2 separate regions of the Homo sapiens genome follow, and region 2 is linked to region 1. The links are contacts of gene promoters, found by promoter capture Hi-C in human tissues and cell types (Jung and others, 2019). All regions are on one chromosome and are shown on one strand. The core of a region is centred on a gene start or on the middle of the fragment in contact, and the rest is flanking DNA. Distances in the headings are between cores, read along the strand shown. Region 1 holds the start of HDAC8 (histone deacetylase 8). Region 2 overlaps HDAC8 (histone deacetylase 8).

What was found. Contacts are between HindIII fragments. The study calls those that stand out against the background at their distance.
Region 2: a contact is called between a fragment that was not itself captured here and the fragment with the promoter of HDAC8 in region 1, in 2 of the 25 tissues and cell types used here (adrenal gland and ovary).

What each region holds. Positions count from the first base shown.
Region 1 is chrX:72,570,951-72,575,425 of GRCh38, forward strand. HDAC8 (histone deacetylase 8) reads right to left here and starts at 1,893. Exons shown (of 11, transcript NM_018486.3): 1 at 1,701-1,893; 2 at 1,107-1,159. The coding sequence starts at 1,811. RefSeq lists an enhancer at 1,856-1,985. The HindIII fragment of the contact is 13,628 bases long and covers 1-4,475 here.
Region 2 is chrX:72,503,084-72,507,558 of GRCh38, forward strand. The region is part of intron 4 of HDAC8 (histone deacetylase 8); the gene reads right to left. Among named protein-coding and RNA genes, the nearest start is that of HDAC8, 68 kb to the right of the region's middle. The HindIII fragment of the contact is 5,612 bases long and covers 1-4,475 here.

The DNA of each region.
Region 1 (4,475 bases), core at 643-3,142:
GTCTCACTCTGTCACCCAGGCTGGGGTGCAGTGGCGCAATCTCGGCTCACTGCAAGCTCCGCCTCTCGGGTTCACACCATTCTCCTGCCTCAGCCTCCCGAGTAGCTGGGACTACAGGCGCCTGCCACCACGCCCGGCTAATTTTTTGTATTTTTAGTAGAGACGGGGTTTCACCGTGTTAGCCAGGATGGTCTTGATCTCCTGAGCTCATGATCCGCCTGCCTCAGCCTCCCAAAGTACTAGGATTACAGGCGTGAGCCACCACGCCCGGCCTTCTTTGGTCTTGATCTGTCTCCAGCCTCACCCATTAAAGTTTGGTGCTGGTGGTGGGTTGTCTAAAAGTCTTAGGTTGAACTCACACCCTCAAATCTGGCTTAGAATGAAACGAAATCAAAAGAAAAATGGAACACCTCCTAGCTGAACACCTTTTTGTATGAGACAGGTTTTAATACCCAAATGTACTCAAAATCTCCACAATGCACTGCACCTACCCCTGGGATACTTAACCAAGCAATCGAGCTGTATTTCTAATGAACCTTAACTGCTTCCTGCACTTTCCACTCCCCTGTCCCAAGTTTTCTTTTCTTTTTCTTTCTTTCTTTCTTTTTTTTTTTTTTTTTTTTTTTTTTTTTTGAGACGGAGTTTCACTCTTGTTGCCCAGGCTGCAGTGCAATGGTGCAATCTCGGCTCACTGCAACCTTCACCTCCGGGGTTCAAGCGATTCTCCTGCCTCAGCCTCCCGAGTAGCTGGGATTACAGGCGCCCGCTACCACGTCCGGCTAATTTTTTTGTATTTTTAGTAGAGACGGGGTTTTGCCATGTTGGGCAGGCTGGTCTCAAATTACTGACCTCAGGCGATCCACCCACCTAGGCCTCCCAAAGTGCTGGGATTACAGGCGTGAGCCATGCTCTCGGCCCCCCAAGTTTTCTTAATTCTTCAAGAGCTTTCTTGGGATTACAGGCAGATTACAAACACTGTGAATACTTTCACAGAAAGCTAAAATAATTTTTTCAAAAGACCATTCTTTTCCTTGCCCCACTGTGAAGCAGGATATTAAGGCTACGAACACCTAGCTTCAGGGCTATGTTCAAGAAAGACAACTTACCTCATCTGCTTATGCAGTGCATATGCTTCAATCAAAGAATGCACCATACTGGCCTAAAAACATCAGCGTAAAAAAAAAAAAAGAAAAGCAGAAATAGTCTCTTTAAAGTTTAATTCAGCAAAATCCCCGTCAATCTCACCATCCTGAACAAAGGAACGGATTAATTTTGTTTCAACTGGCTTCCCTTCTGTTAACAGTTACAATACACTTTAGACAATACAGATACAAAGTATCAAAATCACTAAGGTGAAAGCTACCGGGCCTTAGGCAGGTGATGGAACACCTTCCCCCTGCAGCTTGTTTTCCCACGACTTCAGCGGTCCCCTATGAGTGGAAACTGCGTCCTCTCCCCTCCTCCGTACCCCCTCCCCCACTCCTACCTGTCCATTGGACGTCCCGAAGAGACATGCTGCGCTCTCAGAAACGATATGAGAACACTTCCTTCTGATACAGCTTTAGGTATCTGATACAGCTACTCGAAATTTCTGAAGATTTCCCCCAGCCCAGTGTCCTCTCCGCTTCCTAACGCTCTTTCGTCCACCGCCCCCACCCCCACCCCCAAAGCCCATGGTCTTTCATCCCGACTTCCCTTACCCGTTTGGGGATCTTGGCCAGGGAGTCACACATACTGACATACTCGGGACTATAGATATAAACCGGGACCAGCGACTGCCCACTGTCCGCCGGTTCCTCCGGCTCCTCCATCTTCCGCTTAAAACCGTTCCGCAGCCACCTTCCAGATCTGGCTTTTTTCGGACTCGGCCAGGGTTCCAGTTCCTGCTCCTCTGATCGGCCGCAGCGGTGCTCCCTGGTCAACATTCCCTCCTATTCTTGAGATCGCCGGAGACACTATCACCGCTCCCCATCCTATTGAAGGAATGGATGGGACTTCCCAGACCAGACTCCCCTCATTTAGTGACCACAGTTCAAGGAAAAGGGTTTGGCAGATGTAAAAGTCCAAATAGCTGTCAATTAGGATCGATTGTTTTTATGGCACAAATAAGTAGGGTCAAAACTAACCATCCTTGTTGCCCTACGGGGCCATTTGAGATGAAGTCAGACCAGTTTCACAGCATGCTGGGAGATGTAGTTTCCGGAGGTTTGAGCAACGGAAGAGCCGGGGCTAAACACTAAAATAACCGCGATTTTTAGTTTCAGCGCTAAGACCAAAAAAAAAAAAAAAAAAAAGTAGCCTCAACTCTTTATGAATTGTTTCAATCTGCAAACACATCCATTTCATCCATTTAACCATATAAACACAGATAGAACGTGGCCACCTAGAGCCCCCACCATCCAGCTACATCAGCTGCCTATCCTAAGGATAGGCTTTTTTTTTTTTTTTTTTTTTTTGGTGGGGGCGCTATTTAATGGCACAAATGGTTTGAAAAGTTTACACAGTAAATTCTGTGATGCAATTTTATAGTTCATTTCTTTTCATCATTAACTATCCATGTCCACATGAGAGTTAACAATCTCAATAATTTACTCTGGCAAATCTGATAGTACTTTCCCAAGAGACTGGCTGGTGCAGTGGAAATTGCTTGGTAGATTCCGATCAAGCAATGATGTCAAATGTAACTCCTTGAACATTCATGTGGTAGGAAGGTTGCAAGCAGTGGTGTTTGGAAACTGCAGCTCTTCTCCTCCTACCTCCTCTTGTTTCTGCAGCTAAACATAGATTAGGGAAATATTTTAGGTTTGGTGTGAGGGTCCAGTTTAAGACTATCTGAGGCGGTTTTAGAATTACCATCAGCATTTGGAGGTTCCTGGAGGCCCCTATGATCTGATACAAGCTGGCCAGTGCTCAGGATCTTAATTCTCATGGCAACCTAAACTGACTGACTAACACCACTGGGACAACCTAATATCCTTACTATATTTAAAGTCTGGCTTGCTTTTTAGACTTTAAACATTTATTGAAGATTGTGACATGCACATTGGCCATATTATCTCATTTCATCCTTGCAACAGTCCTATAAAGGAGGTTGCAATACACCCATTTTACAGATGCAGTTTAGAGAAACAACATTCAAAATCACATACTTAACAAGCAGATAAGTAGGAATTCAAAATTAGGTCAGCCTGACACTGAAGCCTTTGAACATTCCCTTTATTATATAAACTTGATTCGTCCAGGATGACTTTGTGTTATGATATAACTTTGTTCACCCTCCATTTTGTATCCCTTCAATACTTATTCTGAAAATCTTGGGGGTGTTTTGGTGATGTGCTCTGTAACTAGAATGTAAGATCTTATGTTTCTTTAATTTATGTCTTCCCATAGTAACTAGTTAAAAGCTCTGCAGTCATTCATTCATCAAACATTTATCTGATATTAAGTGTACAGTACAGCTGAGGATTCAAAGGTAAATTATGATGTGATCTCTGCTCTCAAGGAATTTGCATTCTTTTTTTTTTTTTTTTTTTTTTTGAGACAGAGGAGTCTTGCTCTGTCGCCCAGGCTGGAGTGCCGTGGCGCGATCTCCTCTCGCTGCAAGCTCCGCCTCCCGGGTTCATGCCATTCTCCTGCCTCAGCCTGTCCAAGTAGCTGGGACTACAGGCGCCCGCCACCACGCCCAGCTAATTTTTTTATTTTTAGTAGAGACGGGGTTTCACCGTGGTCTCTATCTCCTGACCTCGTGATCCGCCCGCCTCGGCCTCCCAAAGTGCTGGGATTACAAGTGTGAGCCACCGCGCCCAGCCAGAATTTGCATTCTTATACAGAAGATGGGGCAAGTACACAAGAAACCAAAGGCAATGCAGAGTCAATGAATGTAGGATGCTTAGCCTACTTAATAAATAAGCATTAAGTACTAAATAACTGGCATTTAATAAATGGTAACTAGAATTCATCTTTGATGGCATTTGAGAGGGTCTTAGGAGGTGGGCAAGATTTTGCTTGGTGAAGATGGGAGCCAGGAGAGGGCATGCTGACTAGAATGAACAGCATAAACAGTAACACAAAAGGGAAAATTTCTAGTCGAGTTTAGCTAAAAGGGCCAGATCATGAAGAACATTGAATACCAGGCTAAAGAGAATAGACTACATTCTGTGGGAAATGGGAAAACATATTTAGACAGAAATAGTAAGGAAAAAAGATTTCTATAGCAGCAGTGTGTAGGAAAGATTAGTCATTAAAAGGCTAGGGGCAGTTAGAGTGCCACAATGGTCCAAATAAGAAGTGATAATGATTTTAAACTAGGGTGGGGGCAATGGGAACAAAGGAGAAATAATGTACAGGGTAGGTTCAACAGGACTTTTTTATTACTTGGATATTGGTGAGAGGGAGGAAGATGGAAAAGGGTTGCTGAAAACTCTTAAATGTAAACTCTGGGTAAAGAAAAGACTAGAGGTAGCAATATAAGAAAG
Region 2 (4,475 bases), core at 871-3,370, 68 kb before region 1:
AATAAGTTAACCATAGCTGTTGTAAGTCTTTTATCAGCTACAGGTAGACAGCTTTTTATGTTTTACACCAATGCTTCCCTGAAAGCACTTGCATCAGCTACAAGCTAGAGGGCTTCATCTTCAACAAAGCACTTTTTCAGAGTCCCGTGGAAAAGAACTATGCCAGGTACTTTTGTGTACAGGCTTATGATGAGATGGTTTAAACAACTTTGAGACCACACTAGTGAACTGAGGCAGGATTTTGAGAACTCTAGTTGAGAAGCAAGTGTGTTAATAAGATAGTGCTAACCCAAGGTGGAGTGGAAAAAGAACTAATTACATAGACCTGAATGATAGAAGGGATGATTTGGGTTTTGTTTGGAATATTGCTAAAGCTTTAATATTCTGTTTTCTGGATATATAAGAAACTCACTTCCTATTTCTCTTTTCTCTTACACTATCTATAATTCATAACTATCTAGTAGACCATGCTTTTGTAAACTGAAATGAAATGTTTGTAAATGATATCTTATACCCCTGAGTTCTCCAGGATTTGGAAACTCTCATTGAGTATTCTTATTTTCATAGCAATATAAATATCTGCATTGGTTCAATAAAAATCTGTCTGCCCTTCTTACCAGATCATGATTAGAAACATTGGTATGTAACCAAGGCCTTACCTGGAATGCCATATTTGTGAATGATGCTCACTGAATCAGATATGATCAGACACTTTTAAGGAACTAAGGCTGACTTTATGGAGCCAATGCATACAAAGCCCTCTTGGGAAAACTAGCCTGGTACCTGACTTACAGGGTTCTCAGCCTTACAACTGAGTAAGGAAGGTTACTTCCTGGCAAGTCTTAGAAGCTTAGGATATTTTGTCGACCTCAAAAAGAGAACAGTTCTCCCACATTTATAGATGCAGCAAGTAAAATCTTCTTAGCTTGATAGGCTTTTAAAATTTCAAATTCAGATTCCTTATGAAAACTTTGAGCAAAGCAAGCTTAAGGTCTATTTGGTAAATTACCATTCTTACTGTGCCTATGTAAATAATCAAGCTAAATCTAATGAGACTTAATTTTTACTTTTTAATATTCTTATTGAGGCAAAACTTACATAACATAAAATTAATTATTTTAAAGTGTACAATTTAGTGGCATTTAGTACCTTTACAATACTGTGTAACCTTCACCTCAACCTAGTTCTAAAACATTTCCATTACCTCAAAAGAAAACCCATGCTTATTAAACATTCACTTCTTACACTCTCATCCGCCTTCCAGCCTCTGACAACCAGTAATCTGTGTTGGGTCTCTATGGATTTACCTATTTTGGATATTTTATATGTGTAATCACACAATATGTGATCTTTTATGTCTGGCTTCTTTCACTTAATATAATGTGTTTGAGGTTCATCCATGTTGTAGCATGTGCCAGTACTCTGTTCTTTTTTTAGAGCTGAATAATATTCCATCACACACACACACACACCCACACACCCCACATTGTGTTTATCCATTCATCTGTTGACGAATGGGTAACATTTGTGTTGTTTTCATTGTATGGCTATTGTGAATAGTGCTGCTATAAACATTTGTGCATAAGTATTCGTTTGAGTACTTGTTTGCAATTCTTTTGAATATTTATACTTAGAAGTGGAATTTTTAGGTCATATAGTAATTCTATGTTTAACTTTTGAGGAACGACCAAACTGTTTTTCACGGTAGTTGCACCATTTTACTTTCTCGCCAGCAGTGTATAAGGGCTTCAATTTCTCCACGTCCTCACCAGCACTTGTTATTTTCCAGTTATTTTTGTTTTTAAATTCTAGCCATCCTAGTATGTGTGAAGTGGTATCTACTTGTGGATCTGGTTTGCATTTTCCTGATGACTAATGATGTCAAGCATTGTTTTATGAGCTTGTTGTCCATTTGTAGACCTTCTTTGGAGATATGTCTATTCAAGTCCTTTGCCCATTTTTAAATTTTTAATCTTTTAAAATTTTTAAAAATTTAAAAATTTTTTAATTTTTTTTTTGCTGTTGAGTTATAAGAGTTCTTTTTATATTATGGATGTCACACACTTATTGGATATATGATTTGCACATATTTTCTCCGATTCTGCAGGTTGTTGTTTCACTTTGTTGATAAATATCCTTTGAAGCCCCAAAGCTTTACATTTTGATGAACTCCAGTTTAACTATTTTTCTTTTGTTTTTTGAGACCAGCCTTATTTTGCGTTCAAGAATAATCTTTCTTGAGATTATCTTTAGTCAAAAGGAAGTGACTATAGAGAGAAATTTTGTGTTTCAGCAGAAAACTCTGCCTCATCTATGGCACACCACTCTAGGTTATCAGAGTCTAGTCCTATTCACTGTCTTTGAGCTATTTGGTACCTACTTATAAGCTACAGGTTACTGATGGATAGGCAAACTTTATCTTGTCTGGTGGAGATATAATTGACTTCCTTAGGGCTAGGCGCAGTGGCTCATGCTGTAATTCCAGCACTTTGGGAGGCTGGGGTGGGAGGATTGCTTGAGGCTGGGAATTCAAGTCCTCATCTTCACAAAAAGTTTTAAAAATTAGCTGGGCATGCACCTTTAGTCCTAGCTACTCAGGAGGCTGAGGCAGGAGGATTGCTTCAGCCTGGGAGTCTGAGGCTGCAGTGGGCTATGATTGTGCCACTGCACTCTAGCCTGGGTGAAGAGACTCTGTTTAAAAAAAAAAAAATTAGATAATTGACTTCCTTTTCTTCTGTGGAAAAACCAGTTTTGGCACCTACTTGTAAATCAAACTGGATCTTGTTAACTTGTCCAAATTGTCAATCTTTACCAAATTTTCAGTTCTTCTAGGTTACTTCAATATCTTGCTAATATCCTCCAAACTAACTTTTCCAAGTTTTCTCCCTCCCACCTGACTCAGAGTCACTGAGAACTAAAACCCGACTGCCCAAATCCCTATTGGGACTCTAAGTTGTCTTGGAGCTTGCCCTCTTTTCCAGGATCTGAGGCAGCCCTGCAAGCTAAACTCCAGTGGCTCAATATAAACCTAGACGAACACAGAACTGCAGCCGACCATGCATGACTAGAATTCTCCTTGAACAAGCTGCTGCCTAGACTATGATAGAAGTTGTAAGAAATGCTCAAGTCATGCATACCTTTTACATGAAAGATGACTGTCTTAGTCCATTTAGTGTTGCTATAACAGAATACCTGAGGCTGGATAACTTATAAAGAAAAGAGGTTTGTTTGGCTTATAATTCTGGTGGCTGGAAAGTTCAAAATTGGGCAGCTGCATCTGGTAAGGGCCTCCCTCATACTGCTTCCATTCATGGCAGAAAGCAGAAGGAGAGCAGGTGTGTGCAAAGAGATCACATGGTGAGAGAGAAAGCAAGAGAGAGAAACTGAGGATACTAGACTTCTTTAAAACAACTCAGTCATGTGGGAACAAATCCATTCCCATGAGAGAATAAAAACTCACTCACTTCTGCAGGAGGGCATTAATTTATTCATGAGATATCTGCCTCCATGACCCAAATACCTCCCATTAGGCTCCACCTCTTAACATTGGGGATTAAATTCAACATGAGTTTTGGCAGGGGGAAACCACATATAAACCATAGCGGTAACCAAGACTGTGGACAAACAACATTGCCAAGAGTACCCATACCCTAGCTCCATGAGTGGTGCTGCAAAATGGAAAAGTTCTCTTCCACTGATGCGTTGGAATCCACTGGACTGGTTACTTTCAGGGTTCAATTCTTGGCTCTTTACTATAATATAATCTTTTATATTAACTTTTTTTTTGAGATAGGGTCTCACTCTGTCACCCAGGGTGGAATGCAGCAGCATGATCTCAGTTGACCGCAACCTCCACCAGGCTCAAGTGATCCTCCCACCTCAGCCTCCCAAGTAGCTGGGACTACAGGTGCATGCCACCACACCCAGATAATTTTTTGTATTTTTTGTAGAGACGGGGTTTTGCCATGTTGCCCAGGCTGGCCTCGAACTCCCGAGCTCAAGCAATCCACCCACCTCGGCCTCCCAAAGTGCTGAGATTATAGGCATGAGCCACCACACCTGGCCAACATTTCTTTTTTCATTATTGCCATCCCTCTTTTAATATGCCTAATTTCCAGGACCCTAAAACAACTGACCTTTGCCATTGTCTCTCAACAGATGGTTCAAGTGGCTTTACAGAAACAATACCAACAAGAGTCCTTGAGAGACTATTTCTTAGACTTCAGCTTCACCTCACTTAGGAGCTTTATGTTCTCCTCTGAGTGGCTCAATTATAAATGATATTTGTTTTAAACAAAAGAGAGAAATGACAGTATTTAAGTTTATCTGAGCCCTGTGTACCCTAGAAAGCAGTAATGGTTAAAAAATCCCCCCCAACCTTTTGTTTTCCAGGAAAAGGTTAACCACAAGTGACCATCCTACACTGACACATTATTCCAAGGGAAGACCCATCTCCATCCTTCCTCACAACTCCC